5 separate regions of the Homo sapiens genome follow, and regions 2, 3, 4 and 5 are each linked to region 1. The links are contacts of gene promoters, found by promoter capture Hi-C in blood cells and fetal thymus (Javierre and others, 2016). All regions are on one chromosome and are shown on one strand. Each heading gives the region's core, a stretch centred on a gene start or on the middle of the fragment in contact. The rest is flanking DNA. Distances are from core to core; before and after follow the strand shown.

Evidence for each region. Contacts are between HindIII fragments. The CHiCAGO score rates a contact against its expected background, and 5 or more counts as called.
Region 2: a contact is called between a fragment that was not itself captured here and the fragment with the promoter of PLPP5 in region 1, in 3 of 17 cell types (total CD8 T cells, activated CD4 T cells and naive CD8 T cells). The highest score is 6.1, in total CD8 T cells.
Region 3: a fragment that was not itself captured here is called in contact with the fragment with the promoter of PLPP5 in region 1 in 1 of 17 cell types (total CD8 T cells); the score reaches 6.9 in total CD8 T cells.
Region 4: a contact is called between a fragment that was not itself captured here and the fragment with the promoter of PLPP5 in region 1, in 1 of 17 cell types (total B cells). The highest score is 6.6, in total B cells.
Region 5: a contact is called between a fragment that was not itself captured here and the fragment with the promoter of PLPP5 in region 1, in 2 of 17 cell types (total CD8 T cells and monocytes). The highest score is 5.9, in total CD8 T cells.

Annotation. Positions count from the first base shown.
Region 1 is chr8:38,265,978-38,271,261 of GRCh38, reverse strand. PLPP5 (phospholipid phosphatase 5) reads left to right here and starts at 2,038. Exons shown (of 7, transcript NM_001102559.2): 1 at 2,038-2,136; 2 at 2,272-2,380; 3 at 2,801-2,891; 4 at 3,302-3,365; 5 at 3,871-3,995; 6 at 4,951-5,121. The coding sequence starts at 2,063. It overlaps NSD3 (nuclear receptor binding SET domain protein 3), which reads left to right. Exons shown (of 24, transcript NM_023034.2): 24 at 1-1,558. It also overlaps a transcript of DDHD2 not described here. RefSeq lists a silencer at 1,840-2,319. The HindIII fragment of the contact is 3,801 bases long and covers 1,350-5,150 here.
Region 2 is chr8:37,743,520-37,748,962 of GRCh38, reverse strand. ERLIN2 (ER lipid raft associated 2) reads right to left here. Exons shown (of 12, transcript NM_007175.8): 5 at 4,547-4,608; 6 at 4,267-4,392. It also overlaps the pseudogene LOC728024. Among named protein-coding and RNA genes, the nearest start is that of ERLIN2, 9.6 kb to the right of the region's middle. The HindIII fragment of the contact is 1,737 bases long and covers 435-2,171 here.
Region 3 is chr8:38,793,169-38,798,819 of GRCh38, reverse strand. All of the region lies in intron 2 of TACC1 (transforming acidic coiled-coil containing protein 1), which reads right to left. Among named protein-coding and RNA genes, the nearest start is that of TACC1, 8.8 kb to the right of the region's middle. RefSeq lists enhancers at 937-1,096, 1,167-1,306, 1,426-1,964, 4,555-4,849. The HindIII fragment of the contact is 1,580 bases long and covers 2,254-3,833 here.
Region 4 is chr8:38,892,917-38,898,320 of GRCh38, reverse strand. No RefSeq gene overlaps it. Among named protein-coding and RNA genes, the nearest start is that of PLEKHA2, 5.7 kb to the left of the region's middle. The HindIII fragment of the contact is 2,100 bases long and covers 1,495-3,594 here.
Region 5 is chr8:38,996,313-39,001,684 of GRCh38, reverse strand. ADAM9 (ADAM metallopeptidase domain 9) reads right to left here and starts at 4,712. Exons shown (of 22, transcript NM_003816.3): 1 at 4,525-4,712. The coding sequence starts at 4,621. It overlaps TM2D2 (TM2 domain containing 2), which reads left to right and starts at 5,176. Exons shown (of 4, transcript NM_078473.3): 1 at 5,176-5,372. The coding sequence starts at 5,246. RefSeq lists a silencer at 4,076-4,505 and enhancers at 4,516-4,825, 4,836-4,885, 4,946-5,045, 5,206-5,372, 5,004-5,372. The HindIII fragment of the contact is 252 bases long and covers 1,942-2,193 here.

The DNA.
Region 1 (5,284 bases), core at 789-3,288:
ATTGTTTTGTAAACTGTTTTGAAAATAAATAGCCTAGTCTCTTATCCTCTTTAGCGTGGATTAAAGGTGAAGTTCTGCAAATGGGAGAGTGTTCACAGTAGATAGCTCAGATTGATTGAACACATTTGAGGAAGAGACTCCTGCATGAGATACCAGCATTTTTACAAATACTTTTTATGTACATTCTTTATTTTGTCATTTTGTCAACCCTCTCCCCAAGCACATCTTCTTTCCTTTTACTATGTCTATGTAGGGAAAAAAACAAAACAAAAAATTGCACTTACGTTACACTCCCAAAATGTGGGTAATCCGTGTCTTTCAAAAAACATTTCTGTTTTTTGTTTTGTTTTGGTCAGTCCATTGCATAAGTGACAAGTTTGGGTGCTTGTGGCACGTATGTATGAAGCGGGAGGGGGATGAGAATTGCCTGTCCTTCAGTAGGCTGTAAAAGTAATTTACATGTAAGTAAAAAGGGAAAATAGAATAGATGCCAAAGTCATTTATTCAGTCCTTAGTTTTCTTATGTGGCATTACTGCATCTGCTAGTTAGTGAGAAAGCACCCTCAGCTTTTACTGCTCCCCTCCCTGCCTGCCAACACACTTGATGTGTGCAAACAGCCCTCAAGTATCTGTCAGATGACCTATATAAGGTATTGAATAAGGTATTCTTGTCAGTTTAGAAATGGACTGGATAAAACTTACTTGGTTGTCATTATTTTATCTCATTTGTCCTGTTACATGCCCTATGTTAAGATAATTATATTGCCACTAATAATCAAGATGCTAAATGAGTATTACAACTGGCTAATATCATTTTTTATATACAAGGGTATGTGTATATTTGGAATTGATATGAGAAACTCATTTGTACCCATTTGAGTGATATTGCACAACAAACACAGATACCTACAGACTCCGTTTTCATTTTCTCGTGTTCTTTATGATAATGATCTTTGTAGATTGGTTATTTCTGTACTTTATCTGTAATAAACTTTGTAGATCCTGTGAACCATTACTTTGCCTAAATCACTTGAGACTTGAGTCTTTAATAACAAAGCATCAATATTCACTAAAGTCAATCTCTTTTGAGTTTCTGTGACTTGGCTAGAAGCTCTTGACACTAAGGGATTAGTGTTAATTTTCCCTGGGGGTGTTCCACTAGGGCATTACTGTATAATGACTTGATGTTGCCACATAGACTTCAAGATATATAATATTTTGAGGATTTTGTTGATTGGCCTATGTTTTATTGCATAGTGTGAAACGTGTAAAGCTTGGTTAACCTGTATATAGATAGCTTATTGTTGACTAGTTATAGTGTATTTAGGGTTGCCTGTAATATTTAAGCTTCTTTACTGATGTGTGTGCTGGTAGGAACATATAATTTTTGTACATTATATTTACTGAGATGTTGCCTTTTTTATTTTACAAATACTTTGGAATTCCAATGTGTTTTTTGCTTCCGTGAGGATTAATTTGGAAAGGTTTTTAATGACATTCCACTGATTTCAGATTTTGCTTGAGATTGACTTCAATAAATTGTCCTGTATGTTCCAAATTAAATATGTGGGCTTGTTCTTTGCCAATAATTTTTTGCTACAACACTCTGGGCAGGAGGCCATCCTGGGTGGGAGGACTAAATGACACAATCCAGCCAACCTCAGGTAGTGTAGCTTCCTGCAGAATGCGGCTGTGTTGCTAAGGAACGAGGATCTGAGAGCGGGCTGTTTGGTTTTCCATTTAGAGGCGAGGTCCCGGGAGAAGGCTGCTCCCCGCGGTGGTGTGGTTGGGCCGTGGAGACGAGCTGCTGATGATGGACCGTACGCCGACCTACTCGGCTGGAACTGGGGCGCTGGCTCCCTGCTGAACGCACCAGAGGGCAGCTCCGCTGGCTTTGCGTACCCTTTGCCAGACGATGCCCTCGGCACAGCCGCCAGGCCGTCTTCCTGGGGAGCCGCCGGAGCGCGGGCAACTGGGAGAGGGGGCGGTGCCCAGTTCCCGGCCCGGCCCTCCCCGCGGAGGTGGCCACGTCAGCGCAGCGTCGCTCGGAGCTCGCGGCCGGATGGGGAAGGCGGCGGCGGCGGTGGCCTTTGGGGCCGAAGTGGGCGTGCGGCTCGCGCTGTTCGCGGCCTTCCTGTAAGAAAGATCCACGGCCGGGCCCGGGCGGCCCCGCTTCCCAGGCAGGCGGGCGGCACGGGGCGGCGGGTCGGGCAGTGGGGAAGCGGGGAGGAAGCCAGGCGACCTGCTCTGCGCTTCTTTGTTCCCCTCTAGGGTGACGGAGCTGCTCCCCCCGTTCCAGAGACTCATCCAGCCGGAGGAGATGTGGCTCTACCGGAACCCCTACGTGGAGGCGGAGTATTTCCCCACCAAGCCGATGTTTGTGCGTGGAGAAAGATCGTCTTTCCTCCCTCCCCATGACCCGGCTTCCCGCGGGCACCTGTGCGTTTTCCACCCCGAGACGGCCTTTGTAGGGACCCACTGCCCACTCCGCTGCTGTGCGCTGGGTTCCGCCTCCTAGGGCTCGAGTGTTTAAGATCCTGATTGAGAGAGGAGGGTGTCCGAGCCTCTTTGGGCTGAGACAACGTTTTCCCGGGCGCTCTGTGCCTCAGCCTGAGGTACCGGGGCCCGAGCCGCACGGGCGCTGCTGTTCACTGGTGGCGCTGCCTGGCGCCCGGTTACGCGCACTCAGAGACCTTATGTTAGCTCCAGTGAGTCCTGCTGTGTCACATCCCTCTTTCCTGTAGGAGCACGAGTGTGGCTTTTTTTTGGATTGTTTTTAACCTCTGACATTCTGATTCAGGTTATTGCATTTCTCTCTCCACTGTCTCTGATCTTCCTGGCCAAATTTCTCAAGAAGGCAGACACAAGAGACAGCAGACAAGCCTGCCTGGGTGAGCGCTAGCCCTTTCGGGCCGGTTTCTTCGTGCTGGGAACCTAGGAGGTCGTTGTGGGATTCAGCCACGGTGAGCCTGTGTGGAGGCCACTGAGTTCTGCATTCCTAAAGGAACTCTATCCCCGCGGGAGAGGAAAATAGCACTGCAGGGACTTGGTTACGCAGGCTACACGGCAGGCAGCCCTGTGCCTAAATGCACTGGGTTATTTGTACCTCAGAAATGTCTTTGGCCTAGTACAAAAGTTCTCGGCTACAAAAGAGTGATCACTGAGGACCCTAATTATTTTTGTGCCCAGGCCTGGTTGGATTCTATCCATCTCAGAAACAGCACGGCTGCTCTCATAACGAGGCCATGACCATACCTTTCCTCCTAGACAGATCCTTTCAACTAATGGCTTTGCTTTGCAGCTGCCAGCCTTGCCCTGGCTCTGAATGGCGTCTTTACCAACACAATAAAACTGATCGTAGGGAGGTAAGTGACAACAGCTAACCACCCCAGCATCTGCCTCAGCCCTTACCCACCAGAACAGAGAGGTTAATGGTGTCCACCACACGTCTTTCTCATTCTTTTCTCCTTTATCTTCACTCTGATTTTTCTTTTGTCATTCAACGCTTACTCCCTTCCCCATACCTCAGTCCTCCAGGTGACACCTGGGCTCTTTTCTGCCTGAACAGCATTTCCCACCAACGGCCACAGCAGTCGGTCAGTGTCCTCTTGAGCACCTCCTGAAGCTGCAGTGTCATTTGCTGTTTGCCCTAAAAAGTAATCATGTGCTGGAATGGGCGTTTTTCCCCTAATTTAAATGCTCACCTTGAAAGGCTTTTCTCTTAGTGTGGTGACTATACTAAGCCAGTTACCTTATTTTGCCTGGGGCACTATTTGACCAATAGTTAACAGGATTATTAATGTCTGCTACAACTGAAAAATAATTTCTGGAGTTAATGATTTACGTTCCAACCATGCTGCTTTCTTCCAGGCCACGCCCAGATTTCTTCTACCGCTGCTTCCCTGATGGGCTAGCCCATTCTGACTTGATGTGTACAGGGGATAAGGACGTGGTGAATGAGGGCCGAAAGAGCTTCCCCAGTGGACATTCTTCCTGTATGAATATCATATGGACTCTACCCTATGCTTGTTTTCACATCATTGAATTTAACCTAGAAAGCTAGTAGGGATGGGAAAATCTGACTACTCTTGTTTCTACAATTTGGAAAATCCCCCCTTCTTTAGTAACTCCACAGTTTAACAAGTCTGAGCCTTGACTATTTGGGTAAATATTACAGAACAGAAAGGTAGTTTACCTTCATGAGATTTGCACATTTAATTGTTATATTATTTGCCTAGATCCTGCAATCTTGTACTAGCAATAAAAATACCTTTAACGAAGAGTTTCTATGTGTCAGGTACTTTGAAGCATTTTCATTTCTTACCTAATTATAGCTCACAATAATCCAATGAGGTGGGGACTATTGTATTTATGAGTCCCATTTATAGATGAGGAAACTAAAGCATCAACAAGTTGATACATATAGCTAGTATACCGAAAACTATACTCAGATAAAACATTAACTTTGGGGCACTAAGTCCTTCATTTTTCTTTTTGTTTCCCTTTCCTTCACAATGACTTACACTATAAGTATACACAAAAAAGGATTAAAACACCCTCATGGCCGGGTGTGGTGGCTCATACCTGTAATCCCAGCAATTGGGAGGCCAAGGCATGCAGGTCACTTGAGGCCAGGAGTTCAAGACCAGGCTAGCCAACATGGTGAAATCCCAACTCTACTAAAAATAAAAAAATTAGCTGGGCATGGTGGCACACACATGGAGTCCCAGCTACTCGGGAGGCTAAGGCAGGAGAATCGCTTGAACCCGGGTGGTGGAGGTTGCAGTGAGCCGAGATGGTGCCACTGCACTCCAGCCTGGGCGACAGAGCAAGACTGTCTCAAAAAATAAATAAATAAAAACATACTCATGCTTCCTAGCCTCCTATGTGGGGATGAATGAGGTAGCTTCCTTTAAAAGACAAACCACTTAAAAGTTTTTCTTGTTCCAGTTGCATTTGCTGGTCTGGCCTTTGCGTCCTTCTACCTGGCAGGGAAGTTACACTGCTTCACACCACAAGGCCGTGGGAAATCTTGGAGGTTCTGTGCCTTTCTGTCACCTCTACTTTTTGCAGCTGTGATTGCACTGTCCCGCACATGTGACTACAAGCATCACTGGCAAGGTAAGCAAAGTACTCAGGCTATGGAAGCTTGCATATTTCACTCATTTTATTCCTAGCACCTAGCACAGAGGAGATGCTTACTAAATATCTGCTGAATGAACAAATTAATGAGTATGGATGGTCTGGGTTCTGTACTAAGTACATTTAAAATTATAGGAAAGAT
Region 2 (5,443 bases), core at 54-2,553, 520 kb after region 1:
TTTTGATGTGCTGTTTGCTTTGGTCCTGATTTCTTTGTCTGGAATCCACATGAGTTGTTTCACAGACAAATGTAGGAACAGCTGTAACTGACTCTCCCCCCACCTTCCTTTCCAGCTGCAATCTCAGAACAGCAGTACCAAAGCTGACTTCTCTGGCATGGGCTTCTCAGGTTTTAGAATCCTCTTCCTTGCCTTCTGCCCATGATATCCTTGATAAGATCCCGGAGGGGCTTAGAGAAAAAGACAGAGTGAAATCAGGCTGGGACTTGTACACTGCATCTCTCCTTTGCTGTCAGCCGCCATCTGCTTTAAGTGGTCCTTTCGTGGTCACCTGTGCTCAAATAAGAGCCTCTGAGGAAGAGAAAGTCTCCGCTCTTTCACTGATGCCAAAACGGAGGCCCATGAAAGCTGGCTAGTAGCAAAAATAACAAGCTTGTTTAACTGGTGGGCCTTGATTGTTAGGATTTTAAGACAGTAGTATCAGTAAACAAGGGACGGTAACGTTTCCACATATAGGATGTGCTCTCACAAGCCTCTGAGCACCGAAGGAGAAATGCCATCAAGTCGGCACCTCACACCTGCCAGGGGTCAACCAATTTAACAACTAGAACTAAATATTACATTTCATATTTTAAGTAATTTTAAGTAGAATACCAACCAAACTTTAAATGGCCCGTATCCTCCATAAGTTAATAACGTCATTCCTCAGACCAAATTATATCTGTCAAGGTGGAAACCTGTGGCCCTGGGCTAGTAGCTTACCGGAAAAATGTGAAAGAAATACTTTTCAAGTTGTTTTAGTAATATTGATGTTTATATGTTATGGAAATGTTGATAAATGCCATTTAAATTGTATTACTAAGGTAGCCGCAGGGAAAAGGCGCAAGGCGCGCTCGTGACGTCATTTCGGCGCGACCCTCTTCTTTGCGTAGAGTTTTTCAGGTTGCTCCTGGAAACCATGCCGAAAGTAGTGTCTCGGTCAGTAGTCTGCTCTGACACTCGGGACCGGGAGGAATATGACGACGGCGAGAAGCCCCTCCATGTGTACTACTGTTTGTGCGGCCAGGTGGTCCTAGTGCTGGACTGTCAGTTAGAGAAATTGCCCATGAGGCCCCGGGACCGGTCCCGTGTGATTGATGCTGCCAAACATGCCCATAAGTTTTGTAACACAGAAGACGAAGAGACTATGTATCTGCGGAGACCTGAAGGCATTGAACTACAGTACAGAAAGAAATGTGCAAAGTGTGGACTGCTGCTCTTCTACCAATCCCAGCCGAAGAATGCTCCCGTTACCTTCATTGTGGATGGAGCAGTCGTCAAGTTTGGCCAGGGCTTTGGGAAAACGAACATATATACTCAGAAACAAGAGCCTCCTAAGAAGGTGATGATGACCAAACGGACCAAAGACATGGGCAAGTTCAGTTCTGTCACTGTGTCTACCATTGATGAAGAGGAAGAGGAGATTGAGGCTAGGGAAGTTGCTGACTCGTATGCACAGAATGCCAAAGTGATTGAAAAACAGCTGGAGCGCAAAGGCATGAGCAAGAGGCCACTGCAAGAGCTGGCTGAATGGGAAGCCAAGAAAGTGAAAATGAAGGGGACCTTGATTGACAACCAGTTCAAATAACCAGGCTTTTTTTCTGAGCCCTAGACTGGAGGCAAGCATTTAGATCAGGAGACAAAGTAACTTCTTGATTACATAGACTGGTTCCTATTTATATCCCAGCAGAAGGCTTTATGTTGTTTCCCATTGATTCTCCTACATGCAGTGAGGTCTTTAACTGAGTCCATTTGACCTGCTTTCTAGGAGATGGATTTTTCTCTAATTTTTTTTCTGTATTTAGATTTTCTTTACTATTTTTTGTCCATTTGATGCAAACTTCTTCAGCTGTGTAGAAACTTTATGAATAGATAAGTGCTTGAGTGTCTCTGGTCTCTAAAGTGGCTGGTTTTATTCTTTCTTCAAAGTTAATAACATGTTTCAAGATTTTTGGACAAAATATTATGGTACGTCATAGAGAAAAGCAGCGTGAATTATATTTAGGTATAGCAAGTCAGATCCTTTGAAGTGACTCTGTCTCTGTTCTTAGAAGGGTTCTTGGAATTGGTTGTGGTTTGAATCTTTCTACTGTCAGAGGAGACCCACTAAAAACCAGAATCTGCATAAAGCTTTCTTTACTTAACACACTGAAGCTATAGGTGAGCCATCCCATGTCAGACTTTATACTCAAAGAAGGAAAAGCCAAGTTGCAGTGAGCGGGTAAGACAGCTCAGATCCGAATGAAAATGGGGTCTGAATAAGTAACCCAAGGGAGCTGCCCTCTAGTCGGGCAGCTAGTATTGCTTCCTTGCATGGATACATAGGAGGGATACATTATAGATTAATAAATGATAGTGAGATAAACAAAATGATCTGTTGTGTATCTTTTACTTTACATTTGCTATTTACAGAGGAGTGTTGTATACATAGGTATTATTTTATGTCACACTGCTTCAGTGATAACTATATCCATGTGTTTGTATCCATGTTTTTATCCATTCAACTGTATTAAAAGGTGTTGGGACAGGAAAAAAAGTTGTATTACTAAGTACACACAAAGAGGTTCTTCAGGTAAACTTCAAAGTATTAGATAATACTTTAATAACATGGGCAAAGAGGATGCGGCAGAGTAAGAAGTGATGAAAATTATGCAGCTTCATGTTTAAAGTCTGGGCTATAAGAGTCCTGAGAGAAGGAAAGTATAGAAGAACCTTCTGAGTTGAAGGGCCAGGACTAGAGACATGAGCTCCTCCTTTATGGATATGACAGATTCTAAGCCAAGTAGTGCTTGCTAGCAAGACTGAGATGTAAAAATAAAAAAGTTTCAAAGCAAATATATTTCCCCAGCTCCTCCATACAAGCAGCTGTACTTCACTAAGCTACCAAGTTTAGCTGTAAGAAAGTAAGAAGTTTGCTAATGAAAAACAACTTTGTATTTTAATTTCCTCTTCAGGGACATTAGGGATCCTTTGTCTTTTTTCAGTGCTTTGAAATGTTCATGTAATGTCACAAGTCCTAAGACAATGGCTAGAGAAAATTAATATTTTATAAAATTCTATTAGTTTGAGGTTAAAAAGAAAAATCAACGGCAAATTTACCAACTTTTTCTTAAAAGCACAGTGAATCCAAAACAGATAAAAGACTACAAACCCTATAAAATGAATTTAGATTCATTTTCTACTGCAGAAACATTAAAAGTAATTTGGATGATTTCCTAAATCTTAAATGGTGCAAAAGGCGGTTTGCTTAATTATGATTGCTGGCGATGTGGATGAGTCCTCCTGTCTGCTATGAAAAATGTTCTTGCTCAGGGTCCCTTTTATGAAGATTCCTGGGAAAAATCATTTTCCAGTCCTAGTGTCAAGAACAGTTATACTATTGGTTAAAAATTCATTTACTTTTGGCATTGGCTATTAGAGAATTTCTGGCAGTGAGTTTAAACAGAATACTTGACTGCAAACAAGTTATAACAGTTACCCAACTGTGTCCTTCCTTTGCTGCTAAGTCAGGTTGCCTTTACTTTGAAAAAGGTAAAAAGGACAAAACATATCTACTTAGGCACGTGGAATCTTTTTGTTTAAAGTGTTTTTCTATTCGTTGCTACAGGTACAGAGTAAAAAAATAATAATCACAAAGGTTCTGAGAACTGGAAGGAGCTATGGTTCTCATCTCACTTCTAGAATTAACTATGAATCATGTCTTTTTCATCACCCATTCCTGGGGGCCCTCCATTCAGTGTTGCATGGTGAGAAGAATGCTGAAGAGCCAGGAGAGGAAGGCTCCTGTTTCAGCCCCACTACTAATTGGCATCTGGCTCTGTGACTTTCTTGCTTTGGGTCACAGTACCCTCAGCTTAAAATGAGGATGCTGGTCTGGACAATCTCTAAGGTTCTTCTAGAATGGACCTTGTCTTCATTATAGAATGATAGTTTAGGAACAGTGGGAACACATTTCCACTCCAGCCTCTGATTGAGGCCAGAAGTGAATACTCTACTCCACTATGGTCCCTGTGCCCAAAGCTCCAGCCCTCTAAGGATCTTGTTGCATAGCTATCAGCATTCTCCATGAACTCCTTTGTGACCAGCTCCTGAGCACAAGATTCTTTAACATTTCCTGTCCATAAGTGACCATCACACCCTGCAGGCAGCCAGGCTTTAGGCAGTGGAGAGACGCGGGGTTCCAGGAACCCTGCTTAAGCACGGCATGCTCAGGAGAGACTTTCTTACCAAACAGCTCAATGTAGACCTCTTGAAGCGTGTGCACACTGCAGAACTGGTTCAGTTCGTGGTGGATCTTGTTGAAGATGAGGGCCTTGTCATAGTCAGCAGTATAGTTCTTCACTATATCATACACTGAGAGGGAAGGAGAGGGCTTGGCATAAGAAAAGGCAAGACTCAAAATGCCCTCAGACACGGCAGCTCTCCTTTTCCAAGGTGCTACAACAGACACGGGAGTGGCATGCTGGGGAAAGTGAGCTGGTGGTGGGAATAAACTGTTAAGACGTACCTGCGTTCGGGACCAGGAAGTTCACCACTTCAATTCTGTCAAAGTAGATCATCACACCACCACTATTGGAGGGAGAATGGACAAGAAGTCACTGGGAAGCCTTAGAATATGGTGCAGTCCCCCAGGGTGATGGCGTAAGATGTGGGGCTTGGCAGAAAAGGAGTAGAAGAGTTCACGGGAAGTTGGAAGGCAGCTTGGATCTCCAAGTGGGAGGTTCTGCAGGGCTCATGGCAACAACATACTCTCCTGAGAAATCACACTGCCTAGGAACATCTCTACAAAGACATGAATGAGACTTTTGGGGACCAGTACGAAAGAGTAACTCATATCTTTGGAATCAGCAATGCCTTTTGATTAATCAGTTGCACGGAAAAGACTAAGGAGGGTCAAGGTGAAGTTTTCAGAACTTAGAAGGTTACTGTGGAATGTTATGATCAATGTTTCTTAAACTGTCTTCACTATTACTTTGGTGTCACACTCCCTTTGCCCTCAAATATTTATTATAAAAAGATTTCAAACATAGAGAAGCCGAAAGAGTAGTATAACTAACATCCATATCCAGATACCTGAATTCAACACTGATAACATTTTACCTTATTTATTGACCTTTTTTTTTTCTGAACATTTCAAAGTAAGCTGCAGTTAGGATACTTTACTCCTTTACTTTGGTGAGCACTGTCTTAAGAATAATCATTCTCCTACACACTCATGGTATCATTCCCAAGCCTAAGAAAATTAGCAATAATTCTGTAATATCACCTAATACCCAGTCCTTATTCAGATTTCCCCAACAGTTTGTGTTATGGACTGACCTGTGTATGCCTCGCCCCCAGATTCATATGTTGAAGCCCTAACCCCCAATGTGACTGTATTTGGAGATTAGACCTTTAAGAAGGT
Region 3 (5,651 bases), core at 1,794-4,293, 530 kb before region 1:
CTAAGGGTATGGGCTGCATAGCTCACATTTCCCCAACAACTGCTGGGGCCCAGGATCCCCGGAAGCATGGGAGAGGGGTGGGTCAGCGGGATTCTGAGTGGGTGAGTCAAGGCAGACCATCCTCTTAGGTACATCATAGTTTTAAGCTGTCTCACCAACCAAAGCAGAAAAATACACATACACACACACACACACACACACACACACACACACGCAGAACCCAGACAACAAACTACCTGTTTAAACCCCTTCCTAACCTCCAAAAAACCCCCAAACAAAAACATTACCCAGAAGTCACGGTAGGGCAAATTTCATTGCTTTTTTAAGAGACAGGGCACCAGCTACACTGCTGTTCTCCTGAGATAAGCCTCTAACTCCTGAGAGAGGCTCCCCCTAAAACCTAAGACTCTACAGGTAAAGAATAATCTGGAAAACCACTTGGTAAACTGAAAAAAGTTTGTACTAAGGATGAAGAAAGCACTTCAAATTTCCAAAACAGCACTTTATGCTATTTTATTTAAAAAGACACCCAAGCCAGGTGTAGTGGTACACGCCTGTAGTCCCAGCTACTCGGAAGGCTGAGTCAGGAGGATCCCTTAAGACTGGGAGTTGAGGCTGCAGTGAGCTATGATTGTACCACCACACTCCAGCCTGGGCAACACAGCAAGACCCTGTCTCTAAAAAAAAAAAAGGAAGAAAAATAAAAAGAGACCCAAACCGTATCTCTAAAGGCCAAGATTATAAGGTAAGAGGATGGGACTTGCTTATCAGGAAGTGTCCACCCACCAGGAAGCCAAAGCCTCCTCCAGAGAAGCCAATCCAGCAATGAATGTGTCTTCTCTTCTCACTCATGAGATGCCCATGGGTTCTGGAACCATCTGGATTTGTTTGAGGTTATATTTTAGACAGAGTAGAAATCCCCTTCCACAGACAGAAATCATAGAAGGCCCTCCCCACAAAACTTCTCCCCCATCCCCAACCTATTCTGGCAGGAAGAGCAAGGGGGGAAAGAGCACGTGCTAACAGATGGGGCTCCTGTGCAGAGATCTGGGATTGTGTAACTTCAATCTGTTGCTGCCAAACAACCATAATGTGCATCTCTTCAGAAATAATTACTGGAAAATTCAAAATACCAACTGCCTCTCTCACAAAGTAGCAACCACCCACATGGAGCTGAGAAGCTGATGCTGGATAAAGAAGAAGAGGGAGGAATGTTCAGCAAGAGAGGGGCCTCCAGACAGAGCAATCTCAGCCAGCATGCTGGGTGCATGAGACACATCCATGGCAGGACCACAAGCCAATAGGCGGCTATATAATTTCTTCAGCCAGTTCTGCTCCTGTTTAAGAAAGAGGGCAGCAAGAAGGAGTGGGGTTAGGAAGGGCATAGTGAAGAGACGCCAAAGGAAGAAAGCAATGGGAAAAGCTTTGCCATCTAAGAATGTATACCCTTGTATATCCTTTCATGCAAGTTTTTTAAAAAGTGGAAAAGGGCTTTGTGGTAGCCAGCCTCCAAGACGGCCCCTATATGTCTCACCTCCTGGTACACATGCCCTTGGACTGACCTGTGTAACCAAAAGGATACTGTGGAAATAAGTGTGACTTTTGAGGCTAAGTCACAGAAGACTCTGCAGTTTCTATCTTGCTTGCTCTTGGATCACTCACTCTGGGGCAGCCAGCTGCCATGCTGTGAGGATACTCAAGCAACCCAGCAGTGGTCCACATGGTGAGGACTGCAGCCTCCCACCAACAGCCAGCACTCACAGCCCAGGCAAATGAGTAAGCCGCCTTAGGAGAGGATTCTTGAGCCTCAGTCAAGTCTTTAAACAACTGCAGTCCCAGCCGACATCTTGACAGCATTCTCAAAAGTGACCTGAGCCACACCACCCAGCTCCCAAATTTCCCAACTACAAAGACTATGTGAGATGTTCGTTGTTTTCAGTTTTGGAGTAATTTGTTATGCAGCCAGAGATCACCAACAAAGGCCTCTTAAAAACTCCTCTATCTACCATAAAACAGGCGCAGAGCCCCTGGCAGCCGCACACACCTCCACACACCTGCCTCTTCTCAACCATGCATGACTCAGGTGGAGACAGAATGCAAAGGCTAGTACTGAATTTGTCTACTCCTTCTTTATTTTTCACTGATGAGCTGAAGCTAGGCATTGAGGAAGCAAAATGTTTTCAATCCCACTGCACTTATCCAGTGATGATTTTTGCTTGACTATTAATTTATATCTAAATCATGCTGCAAGCTTCCAAACTTCTGATGTTTCAACTTCCTAAAATACATTTCATACTTCAGAATAATATGTGCCAAGTTCACACATGTGGAAGATGTATTTTTTGATTTTTTAAACTACTATCACATGACAGGATACTTAAGACGATGCTTTCCCCCATCACACACCCTGCTCTGGCAACATTTTAAGACCCTTTATTTCCTCTGATATGTCTTCTCTTCAGATAGTGAACAACAGAGAGGGATTCACAAATTTCCTGGAGAGAAAAGCTGTATAATATGTTCCAAAGAGCTCTGGATCTGCAATCTTAAAAGCTGAATTCAAAACCCAGGTCCACTACTAGCAGTAAAGGCTCTGGCCTCAATTTCCCAATCTGTGAAATGGAAATCACTTGTGTCCTATCTCGCAGAATCATGGTCATAAAAATCAAACAAGATGCTGCAAACAAAGATTACTTGTTCCCAACACATCTAATAAATAAATACGGCTGAAACAGATAGCTGGTGATCTGCTAGGTGGGAATATTGTAATGGGAAAGCTGGAGATCAATCATTTATTGTCATATTTCCAGCTATGATATAAGAAAGAGGGTCCTCGACTGGCTAGGAGAGTATCTGCATCTGCCAAACTGTCAAGATACATTTTTCATTTGTGAATTAATAAAATACTCCATGCCATTATTATTATTCCCTTGTGAGTCTGGCCATCATCAATCTAAACCCTGGGGATCTAATCATGTTTGTTTGAACTCATAAAATTAGGTCATGTACATGCAAAGGTGAGGGTGAGATCTTGAACTCACAAGTAGCAAAGCCTTTCTAAGCCCAGATTTAATAGTCACCAGGCAATTTAGCAACCTTGGTTATGAAATCTCCACTGAGAGGGTTGTTTTGGGTGGATAAACCATTATCTCCCATCGCTACTCTGGATTTAGGAGAGTGTGACAAAATGGTTTATACCCTCCAAGATTTCCTCTGGGCAGTATAACTGGTAACCTGAAAAAGACACTGCAACTGCTCTTTCATTTAAATGTTTAAATGGCTTTAGGCCACATCCATTTTGTAGGTGGGACATTACATGGCAGCAATATAATTTTAGAAGGACTGCCGGCTCCCAAAACACATACACAGGTAGAAAGTGTCTCTGCCACCCGCAAGTACCAAAGTAAGTTCTACTGCTTTATTCGATGCTTGGGTAAGCCCAAAATGGGGGAGTGCAAGGTCTTGATTTTGTCACTCATCTTAAAAGAAAAATTGTGATTTGATAGTTACTAAAATCTTTCCTTTCTGCAGGTAGACTTTGCTTCCCTGCCCTGGAATTTTTTATTCAGACACTGTTGCTCCTCTGTGGTTCTGCACTCTCACAAGTTTCTGCTGGAAAAACTACACTTTTTTCCCCAGGAAGACACTCCCTTGGGTAAGGCACCATATAGAAGCAGGTGCTTCCTAGGGGCACATTTACATTGTGATAGAGCAACAACAACAAAAAAACACATGACTCTGATCTCATTTATTAGCTGGTTGGAATCTCCAACTTCAGAGCTAAAAATACATGAAAAAACAAAGTAGCTATATCATGCTAAGATTTTCAAGCTTTAAATACCTTAACATGGAATTATACAGTACAAAAAAATCAAACTGTGGAAGAGGCAATCACAGCAAAACATTAAAAATTTAAAATTAAATTAAAAGCATTAGGCTGCGATGCTGTTGAAGGAGCCACATGGGTTGGACTGCTGGACTAGGTAATATGAAAGGTCCTAATTAGTCCCATTATTTCTAGGAAACTCTAATAAAGCATTCCCTTGTTGGAGCAGGGAAAGGATGTTAAACTAAATCCTTAGGAGGATATACTTGTAGACTTGAATGGAACACTTCAATATGTACCTAATGAAAATTTTTCACATAGTATCTGATTAAACATATAACTCAAAGCTTTAGAATAAAAAATCAAAGCCTCTGATTTTAACAAGGTTTCCATGCTGTGTTTTCTATAGCACGCACACACACACACACACAAACAAACACACACACACGTGCAGTCTAAAACATTCTAAAAATACACCATATCAACCTTTTAAGAGATCTGCACAGTCAACTTACAAATTCTCATACACCCGAAGTTACATTAAAGACATTTAATGGGTTGGGTGAGGCTGGCTCATGCCTGTAACCCCAACACTTTGGGAGGCCAAGGTGGGAGGATCACTTGAGCCCAGGAGTTCGAGACCAGCCTGGGCAACACAGTGAAACCCCATCACTATTTTTTTAAAAAAAATTTAAGAAAATAAAATGTTAAAAAAAATTTAATGGGCAAAAGTTAAAAGTCTATGTGTTTGTACTTCTATTAAATGATTCCAATATTCTCCCCATTCTTCCCTAATTTCCTTTTTAAATAATTTTTATTCCTCCTTAGATCTTTGAGTCAATTGAAAATCAAGTTCATTGCAGACCAATTACATCACTTCCCCTTTGCAAATATGACAAATAGCCAGGCCACATCAGGCTCTCCCCTGGGCCTTCCCTGAACATGCAGGCCTAGACTAATGGCACCTCACGCCCACAGTTCATTTGTTCAGCAGGTATAACCTTGCACCTTTTCATTCTTAAAGCCATTTTCCCAAATTACTTAAACTCTGTATTTTTACTGAAATTGTAATAAGTATAGATGTAGGTTGACATTTTTTTTCTGTACAAGATAGTAAATATGTTAGACTTTTGCCAGACATTTGGTCTCTGTTCCAAGTACTCAACCCAGCTATTGTAGAGCAAAAGCAGCCATAGACAATACATGAATGAATGAGTATGGCTGTATTCCAATAACTTTATTTATGGGGATGACAGTGGTGGTTCAAACCTGAAATCCCAGCATTTTGGGAGGCTGAGGTGGGAGGATCACTTACTTGAGCCCTGGAGCTCAAGATCAGCCTGGGCAACATAGCAAGACCCCATATCTACCAAAATATATATTTCATATATATATAACTTGATGGGCCCTGAAATTTTGTTTTGTTTTTTTTTAAGAACTACTTTATTGAGATATAATTCACAAACCATACAGTCCACCCTTTAAAATATATGATGCAATGGTTTTTAGTAAATTCACATAATCGTGTGACCATTGATGGGCCCTGAAATTTGGATTTCACATTATTTTCACACATCACCATTAAACCATCAAAAAATGTAAAACTCATTCTTCTGTTCAGGGCCATGCAAAAAAACAGGACAGGCAGGGCTTGGTCTATGAGTCACAGTTTGCTGATTCTGATCGAGACTACCAAAATTGTGTCAACAAACAACTTGGCATTCCCTCACAGGCCTGAGGCAGTAAATATCTGTGCACAGATCCCATTTATCTCTTTTCTTCTATTCTGGGGAAAAGTCCAGAGAACTACAGTTTGTGTTTGAAA
Region 4 (5,404 bases), core at 1,295-3,794, 630 kb before region 1:
GTATACATGACATAAATTTTACCATTTTAAAGTGTATATGTAGTGGCATTCGGTAAATTCACAATGTTGTACAACTCTCACCACTGTCTAGTTCCAACCGATTTTCATGGCTTCTAAAGTTGACGCCATACCTATTAAGCAGTCACCTCCCATTCTTCTCTTCTCCCAGCCCCTGGTCACCACTAACTTGCTTTCCATCCAGTCTACAGATTTGCCTATTTTTGATACTTCATATAAGTGGAATCATATATATGTGGCCTTCTGTGTCTAGCTGCTGTTGCTGCTTTTTTTTTTTTTTTTTTTTTTGAGACAGAGTCTCACTCTATTGCCCAAGCTAGAGTGCAGCAGCATGATCTTGGCTCACTGCAACCTCCGCCTCCCAGGTTCAAGCGATTCTCCTGCCTCAGCCTCCCGAGTAGCTAGGATTACAGGCCTGCGCCACCACACCCGGCTAATTTTTGTATTTTTAGTAGAGACAGAGTCTCACCACGTTGGCCAGGCTGGTATCGAACTCCTGACCTCAAGTGATCCATCCGCCTCCGCCTCCCAAAGTGCTGGGATTACAGGCGTGAGCCACCGCACCTGGCTGTGTCTAGCTTCTTATGTTTACTTTTGCCATCACTTCATTGACACATTTTGAAAGTACAGTATTGCTGTTGCCTAATTTTATACTTTAATTTTGTTCAGTGCAATAAACAGCCCTGATGTCTGAGAATGTGACTGTACCTGTGGGGAAAGGAATGTCAAAAAAGGACGTTTCATGTGAGCTATTTCAGCCCCCTTGTTGTACCAAGGTAAAATAAAGCTCAACAATTTGCTCAAGGTTTTGAAGCTATAATAGTTAGTGGCAGAGTTGGTTCTAGAACCCAGAGTTGACTACCTTAGAATCTTCTAGTATTGGTATAGAAACCTTGCCACCAAGATGAAAACTTCTGGCCTAGAACCTAAGAATCTCAACAGAAAACCTTATGCACTACTCTAAGCATTTATTTATGTACTTTCTATTCATTTTCAATGTTAATGGCTGGTTAGCTAGATAACCTAACAACCTCCAGTGGTGAGCCAGTGTACCCTGCAGGGAACTATTGTTCTGTCCTCATAGATACCCATTACATAAGGCTGCAGCTGGGGCCAGTTAGTTCTATTAGGGAAAGTGTGGGGCCAAAGAGGCCAAGGTCATTGGTTTGATTCTGGCTCAGGCCAGTTCATTTTGCACAGAGATGGATTGCTCCAGGGCTATACACTGCACCTCTAATGTTAGCCAGTCATTTTATAAATAGTTGCTATGGGTTTTGATAGCAAAGTATGAATAGTTCTGTACCATCCATTTCTAGAATGATTGCTCAAACTGCCATTGTTTTATTCAGTCCAATTCATTCAACAAACAATTATCTGAACCCATTACCATTTTTCCTTCTGTATGTCTTGCATTTACTTGTTTTCCAGGTACTTACTAATTGCTAATTGTTATGCATGTATTATCTCATTTAAGCTTTATAATGACAATGACCCTGCCATTATTTTATGGTGATGAGATGGCTAAGGCATACAGATAAAGCCCTGATACAAACCTGGACAGCCAGAGGCCAGAGCCTGGTCTTTTACCTACCAAGCTACACTGGTAGATGCAATGTTAGGCCTTGTGAAGGATGCAGAAAAGCATAAAACAAGACTCTTCCTTCCCACCGCTGACACTTCCTATATTTATCATCATTTAGAATCTCCATTCCATTTCACCTAGCAATTGCCTATCCAAAGAAAGTTATATGGATATATAGATAGCAATACATGCACACACATATGTATTTATATTCACTGCAGCATTGGTCATAATGGTAAAAATTGGAAATCACTTTCATGCGCATCAAGAAGGGATTGAACAGGTGCATCACTACAATCTTATGCTATGCTGCACTTAGAAAAGAATGAGGGCTGGGTGGGGTGGCTCATGCCTATAATTCCAGCAGTTTGAAAGGTCAAAGCAGGAGAATCACTTGAGCCCAGGAGTTCCAGACTAACATGGTCAACATGGCGAGATCTGTCTCTGGGAACGATTTTTAAAAATTAGCTGGACATGGTGGTGCACACCTGTAGCCCCAGCTACTCAGGAGGCTGAGGCAAGAGGATCACTTGAGCCCAGGAGTTCAAGGTTGCAGTGAACTATGATTCCATCACTACACTCCAGCCTGGGCAACAGAACCAGACGCTGTCTCAAAAAAAAAAAAAAAAAAAAAAAGAATGAGGTAGATATCTATATGAAAAATACTATACATTTTAAGTGAAAAAAGTACAGAGCTTTACATGTAGTATAATTCCATTTCTGTAAATAATTTTTTGCATGAAAAAGCTCTATAAGAATACATTCCAAACTGTTAACCACAGTTCTCTTAGGGCAGGGGTAGAGGGGTGATAATGGTGGATTTCACTTTCTAAGAGATGTATTCTGTGAGGGTTCTTTTTTTGCAACAAGCATGCATGCATTTGGTTTTTTTTTTAAAAAAAGAACAGGAATGGCTTAAATTTTTAATAAAATTTAAAAGTTCCATGAGGAAGAAAATAATATTGCAGCCTTCGAGGAGCTCATCTCTTACTAAGGAGGGAACATAGTATGTACAGAAACTGATACATGCAGAGGAGAGCAGAGATAAAATTCCCCGGGAAGATTATCAACCAGCTGTGGTTGAGAAGGGCAGGGGAAAATGCATGAAGGACATGGCCCCTTGCAAGGACCTTGAAAGAAAGGTTAAAATGTAGAAAAGTGAAGAGGAGGTGAGAATAGGTGGATTCCAGATACAGAGATGATCAGAGGCAAAGCACAGAGCAGGACCACATGGGATCTATTCAGGGAAGTGTGGCTGGTACAGTTGAGCTGGAGCACGGGAGGACATAGGAAGGATTTTCATGGGGAATGAAACAGGAAAGAAAGGTAGCTGGAGTGTCTTTATTGCTAAGCTAAGGAGTCTGTACTTATTATTAGGCTTCAAGAGCCACTGAAGGCTTTTGAGCAAGGAAGGGACACAGTTGGAAGTTAACTGGCTGTGATTTCGTAGTTACTGGCTGCCTAGTAACTAGACTCTGGCACCCAGCTACCTAGTTTTGACTCCTGACTCTGTCACTAATTAGCTGAATAGCCAGGGACCAGTGACTTCTCTGTGCTTCTATAAAATGGGGAAGGTGGTGATGACAGATAACTGTCTCATACCATGGCATTTGGGATTGAGTGAATTCATGCTTTTAGGAAACATGGTTAAGTGCTGACAATGCTAAATTTGAAAAATCAGTGTCATACCTTTGGATTTAAATCCTCGTATTTCATTTGAAACTTTTATCCCAAAGAGCTAACACTTCATGATAAATTATTAACTATTCTTTTTCCCCCACTCTCAGGGAATTAGAGATTTTTCATCTCATTTTACAGATGGAAGAATTTAGGTTTTAAGAGAGCAATAGCATCTCAGAATCACACAGCCAGTCATGATCTGAATCCCTGGGTTCTGAATGGTAGTTCAGTGACCTTTGCCCAATACTTAAGGTTGTCTCTTAGCTCAAATTCTCAGAGCCTTGAGAGTAGGAAAATGGGGAGTGGAAGAAGCTTAGGAAATTTCTGTTTATAGAGTAAGAGGAACAGCAGTAAAGGACAGTAATAAGGTAAAATCAAAAAAGAGAAAACTCTGGTGGAACATCTGGAAGTTTATAAAATCAGACTTGTAAAATATAAACAGGAGATATACATATAAATATATATACATACACACATATACATACATACTTACTGGTGCTAAAGTTATTTCCTAGTAAAAAAGTTTGGAAAGCATTGTTGTACTGCTAAGTCTAACACTAATAGTGTCATTTCTCAGCCTCAGAAATGAGTGTGCGTGCCGTCCCCAGAAATAACAGTCTCCTGGCCAAGAGCACCATTCCTATTGATTCATGCTGATGGCATTGTTTTCCCATCAGTTTGAATAAGTGTAGTGCACCACTCGGAATTCTGCATCCTCAGTGATGCCCTGCAATTAGAGGGAAGAACTGGGACTTCCCAGTTCAGAGTGAGAGAATGAATAGGTACTTAACTTTGGATCTATGACCATGTTTTAGCACTGTTTGACTTTATTTTTGCTTAGACTAGTTAAATAATTCACTATAGACTAGTTAAATAATTCACTACTTCAGTACTGAGGCCACACAGGGGCTACTCTTAGTAAATACTTGTGGGTGAATATAGTCAAAGTTATTAGCAAGAATAAACTCTAGCCAGTTTATTCCAAGAGATGCCTATGGTAGTCAGTGAAGTGGGTTGACTTTTACATCAGTGATTCCCAATACAAGCTGATTATTATAAACCATAGAAAACAAAGAAAAGCAAAAAGGATATTTGGACACGTAGACTTATGTCCTTTTATTATTTTGTTAATAGGCAATATATATACACAGTACAAAGTTCAAAAGAATTAAATATTCCTTTTCCCCCACTCTCAGGGAATTAGAGATTTTTCATCTCACTTTACAGATGGAAAATTTAGGTTTTAAGGAGAACAATAGCATCTCAGAATCACACAGTAGAAAAGAATGAAGTCGATGCTTCCCTGCTTGACTTCTAAATTCTTGTGTTCTCACATACAAAGGAGTTACCAATTATTTTTTAAAAGTACAAAATAATGGGCTGGGCGTGGTGGCTCACGCCTGTAATCCCAGCAGATTGGGAGGCCAAGGTGGGCGGATCACGAGGTCAGGAGTTCGAGACCAGCCTGGCCAACATGGTGAAATCTCATCTCTATTAAAGATACAAAAAATTAGCCAGGCGTGGTGGCAGGCGCCTGTAATCCCAGCTACTTGGGAGGCTGAGGCAGGAGAATCGCTTGAACCTGGAAGGCAGAGGTTGCATTGAGCCGAGATGGCGCCATTGCACTCCAGCCTGGGTGACAGGGCGAGACTCCATCTCAAAAAAAAAAAAAAAAAGTACAAAATAACAACATTGAAAAGCAGTATTTCTTCTACCCATGTTCTCAAACACACTGTTATTCTTACCAGAGATAATCAATGTGTGTGTGTGTGTGTGTGTCTGTGTATGTGTGTGTTTAATACTAAATATTCAGTTTTGCAAGAATATACCTAAAAACGATAACAGTAATTACCCTAGTGGTGGACTTATAGGTGATTTTTAAAATCTTCTGTTTTTCTGGGTTTTCTAAGTTTTCTTTAATATGCATGTATTATTTTATGATTCAAGAAAAAAAAGTTTTACAAATAAATAGTTCTTACCATGAAAGTACTTCAGCTATCTCACAGATGTTTTGTGATTTAAAAACAATATAGAACTGGCCAGGCGCAGTGGCTCAGGCTGAGGTTGGTAGATCATGAGGTCAGGAGTTCAAGACCAGCCTGGCTAAGATGGTGAAACCCCATC
Region 5 (5,372 bases), core at 818-3,317, 730 kb before region 1:
AAAAAAAAAAAAACTACCTTCAAACATACTTAATTATAATTTCTACTGCTAGGTCTACACTCTTACTTTTTTTAGTGTTACACTTTTCTTAAATATTTACCCATCTTTACATTTAAAAAGAAATGGCTTCTGTTGTTTGTTTAAGTGTCCCTTTGGGAAAAACACCACCCATTTCTAAGATTTAATGCCCTAGACAATTTAAGTTCCTCCAGCAAAGAATTTAAGTTCTTTGAGATCAAGGACGGTATCTTATTCATCATGTACTTCCTGCACTGGTACAGTACGTATTCAATAAAATATGTGTTGAATAAATAACCTCTTCTGATGGTTACAGCTAAACAAACATAGTTCTGATAGTTGTAATTATCACATATGACTTAAAGTGAACCTTACTTTTTATGATTAACATCTTTTGTATCAACTTTTCTACAAATCTACATAGCCTACACATTTGTCATTTTGATAGCAAAATCGTATTTCATTGTATTGCTATCCACAGACTGCTTAATCACTTCTCTTAAGTGGCTGGGATGGGAGGTTAGGCCCAAGATATCTTCACAACAGGATTCTCAGCCTTTCAATAAGACTGATTAGAATCAGGCTCTCCTGGGGTCTACTCATATGAAGATTCTACACTACTAGAAGGAAGACGTTAAAATCATCCTAAAATGACTTAAATCATGAAAAATCTCATTAAAAGAACAATTCATCAAAGGGAACGTCCCATTCCCTTTGAGTTCTGCCCTACATTATAACATGTCTGGGGGTGATATCATTTTCTTTTCTTCCAGTAAGGTTTAGTAACACAATACTTACATTACCATAAACATAAATAAATACAAACAGAACTGCATATTTTAAAACGGACCAAGTTAATTTCTAAGGTTCCCTAGCTCACTCTTAAAAGATGTGATTTAAGGCCAGGTGTGGTGGTTCACACCTGTAATCCCAGCACTTTGGGAGGCTGATGCAGGAGGAACACTTGAGCCCAGGAGTTCGAGACCAGCCTGGGCAACAGAGCAAGATTGCCTCTCCACACACAAAAAAAGTTTTTAATTAGCCAAGCATGGTGACACACCCCTGCAGTCCCAGCTACTCAGGAGGCTTAGGCAGGAGGATTGCTTCAGCCCAGGAATTCGAGGTTACAGTGATCTATGACTGTTCCACTGCACTCCAGCCTGGGCAACAGAGCAAGACCCTGTCTCTCAGAAAGAAAAAAAAAAGATGTGACTCAAGCAGTGTCCCACATATGATCACTTAGGGAAAATAATCTGATTAAAATAACAACATGAAATGGAAAATAAACTACAATAATCTCTCAATATACAAACAACATTGTGCTACCCAACTTTAGTTGGGTCCACATTAGACCCATTCAAAGACTGTGAGAGAGGCTGGGGCGCGGTGGCTCATGCCTGTAGTCTCAGCGCTTTGGGAGGCTGAGGTGGGCGGATCACGAGGTCAGGAGGTCGAGACCATCCTGGCTAATACCGTGAAACTCCATCTCTACTAAAAATACAAAAAACTAGCCAGGCATAAGGCTGAGGCAGGAGAATTGCTTGAACTCGGGAGGTGAAGGTTGCAGTGGGCCGAGATCGTGCCACTGCACTCCAGCCTGGGCGACACAGCAAGACTCCATCTCAAAAAAAAAAAGACTGTGAGGGATTAGCTACTGAGATACAAAAGGACTGCATTCATTTATGAGGCAGTTCCATAGCGCTGACTCAAAAGGATGGCATGACTCCAAGCCTCCAGTATATGTTACATACCAAAAAGGAAAAAGAAATATGAGGCTATGTCATATGTTTGAGCTTGCGGATATTCCCAAGAAAAAGCTTCCAGTTACTTAGAGCTTGCATCTTTTGGGGGATTCCATAATAAATTCTATTATAAACCCAGATTTTTTACAAAGAGCAAATATAAATTTGGTAAGTTAAAGCTTCAAGTGCTTTTTGAAAACTGTCTTGGAAACCAGGAACTAGGTTTGTACATATTTTAATTATATATGCTTTCTTTTTTACTTAAAAGGTTGAAAACCAAATCATTCTTAAATGTAAAAGGCTACATTCTCCTATCGGCACAAACACAAACATATCAAATTCAAATATTTTGCTGGCATCTGAAAACGAGATTAGTATGGACCTAAGTTCTTACTACACAAATGATTTTACAGTGACTCACCATGAGTAAGCTTTCAAAGTCATTTTCTTTAGAATGCCAGTCTTTGTTTAAAAAAAAATTCTAAATCTGTTCCTCATAATTACTACCTTAGAAAATCAGAAGAGGTTTCATACCTGATTCCGCTTATTTTTTACAATGACACAGTTACCTTTGTCAGTTTAAAAAAAAAAAAAAAGTTTACTGAAAGTTAGCTGTTTGGAAATTATACTGCATTTCCTCATTGAGACAATGTTATAAAAGGTAGTAAAAATCCTATAAAACCTAATTAACTCCTAATGTAACTGACGTGTGCCTGGTACCTCAAATTCCTCTTTCGATCCTGGAAAATGTTTCAGTGCACGTTTTAAACACCTTATACTGCAAAAATGTGGTCAGCTGATTTTGTATGAACGTTCCCCGAGAGAAACAAGAGTTGACTCACTGCACACTATTACAAAAGCCTCTTAACCGGTGTCCCAGCCTCTAGTCTCTCCCTCCTAGATTCTATCCTCCACCGTGTTGCCCGTTTTCTTAACAGAAAATGAGATTAGGTCGCACCCCTACTTAAAACCTCCACTGCCCAAAGAACTTCCTACGGGGTGAAGTCCAAACCCCTTAGTTCAGCATAGAAGACTCTTCCCAACTGGTAACAACCTACCTTAGTTTGATCTTCCATCCCTCCCTTTTATAGTCTGCATGAAGACATATTGACATTTTTATCATTTCCTAAAAAGTCATGTTCTTTCATACGCCCCCCGCCCCACCATACTCTTGCAAAAACTTTCCTCTGCTTAGAATGTATCTACTATTCTACTTGAAAAATCACCGATGTAGCCCAGTTCAAATATTATTTTCTCTAAAAATCTTCCCCAACATCTCTCAGATGCGCTTAGCATATTTGGTCACCTTCTGCCCCTCTACAATCAACTGTGTGGTGTTTATAGGAGTTCCATAAACGGTGGCTAAACTTTGAAGGGGCATACACATGCCGAAGTGAGGAGCTGGCCAAAACCACAGTTAAAGACCATCAGGATATTCCACTCACCTAATGCAGGTCGGTAATGACTGACAATTTATATTAACATTTAAAAATACAGTCTTATTTACATTTACAAACACAAAAAAAAATCACAGATTAATAAAACTCCGGATGTATAATCGTCTTCACCTTAAACATCGGTGAGTGTTAACCATCTAGAATACCACCGGAAAAGTAGTTTTAACCAGAAGAAATTTGGCAACTTCCCATTCAAAACATTGTCAGAGTTTCAACATTTCCACACTGGGGCAAATTTACTTAATTTCAAATAAAGCAGCCAAAGATAAGAAAAACAAGTAATTAGTTTCCTGAAGGTCAACAGTCCTGCGTTGAAATCTTCTATCATCACCTTTGAATAACTTTCAATCAATGATTTAGTAAAAACTCCCATTCTCCATCATCCTCTGTCGCTGATAGAGAAAATACAGCCATGCAAACAATTATATCATACAAAATCCAAAATAAACAACTTGTTTCCAGAAAGACGCCAGCGTGCTGACAATCTGCTTCCACTATGTTTGGGCATCTCCAATACAAGTATCTTACATAGTCAAGGGCAGTTTCACAATTCAAAAACGATTTCACACAAATGATTTAATTCCTACAATAATCCTGTGAGTTCAAAAGAGCAGGGATTATCTGTCCGGATTTAACACAGTACGAACCCAATAAAAACACAGATTTTTTAAGAATGGTTTGGCTATAGAAAGGTAGCACATCGTTTACAAAATATTCTTACTACAAAAATGACCCAAGAGAAATGAGCGTCCTCCCACCCACCTTTATTCCACCATTAAATTTAGCTGTGTTGACCCAAGGATACCATGAACGTCAAAATTTCAAATTATAACCTGCAGCAAAAGTTTCATCTCTCAGTCTCTTTCCAAGCGACATTAACTCCACGAGCGAGAGCCAGCTCCCTCCCTGCAGGCGTTTGGAGGACTGAACGCCCGCGGGCGCGCCCAGCCTGCAGGGCTCCGGCCCGCCGAGGTCAGCGCCCGCCCCAGAGCGGGTTTCGGGGCGTCTGGGGGACCCGGGGTCGCGCGAGGCGGCGAGGGATGGGGGGACGCTGGGAACGGCTCCATCGAACAGGACACGGAGGAAGCGGTGCCGGGCAGAGGACCCGGGCCAAGAAGGGCTTGGGGCGCCAAACCCCGCGCCTCGGGTGCGACCCCGGTCCGCACACACCTGGAGCGGCCGCGCCCCCCGACCCCGGGTCCGATCCCCAGGCCGGGCCCCTCCACTCCCAGGCACCACAGGTTCACTCCGAGCGCCCCGTCCCTAGGAAGCAGCCGTCCCAACCGACCCGGGGCGCGGACACCCACCTGGCCGCGCCGCACCGAGGACTGGGCCCACCAGGCCAAGCAACAGCAACCACCGGACACGAAGGGTCCCCGAGGGAAAGCGCGCGCCAGACCCCATCTCGGCCGATTCCGCAGGTTCCTCTCAGCACTCGGTCGCCTCCACCTCCGCCTCTTCCATCATTTTCCAACCCTGCCGGGGCCCCAAGTCTGGCCGGGAAGCGCGCGCGCCCGACGAGCACGCGCGCCCGACGAGCACGCGCGCGGCACTGACGCAACTGAGCCCTCGGTCCGAGCTCGCTCCCGACATCGCCTAGCTGCGCTGACGTAGGGAAAAATCCAGTCCCCGGCGCGAGAATAGGATTTCTAAACCGGCGGTGGCAACCAGCACTAGTCGGCCCGCCAGTCATATCCGCCCCGCCCCGTCGGCTGCCGGGCACGCCCACCTAGGGGGGTCGACGGATCCGATTGGAGAACGCATTCGGCGCAAAAGAAGGAGGAGCATGAGACCCAGAAGAGGAATCGAGAAGCAGAAGCAGAGGGCGGAGTAGCCCCGCCCGTCTGCTCGACCTTTTCTAGTTGGTTGGCGGAGGTGCGCGGAGCGTCGAGCTGCGCGTCCATTGGCTGTTTGGCGGGGCTACGCGGGCGGGGCTACGCGGAAAGGCCTGACCACGCAGTTCTTGGGTCTGTGCTGCTGGCCTGGGGTTGTGGTTGAGGCCGGGTCTCCGCTCCTGTGCCCGGGAAGATGGTGCTAGGTGGTTGCCCGGTTAGTTACTTACTTCTGTGCGGCCAGGCGGCTTTGCTGCTGGGGAATTTACTTCTGCTGCATTGTGTGTCTCGGAGCCACTCGCAAAATGCGACCGCTGAGCCTG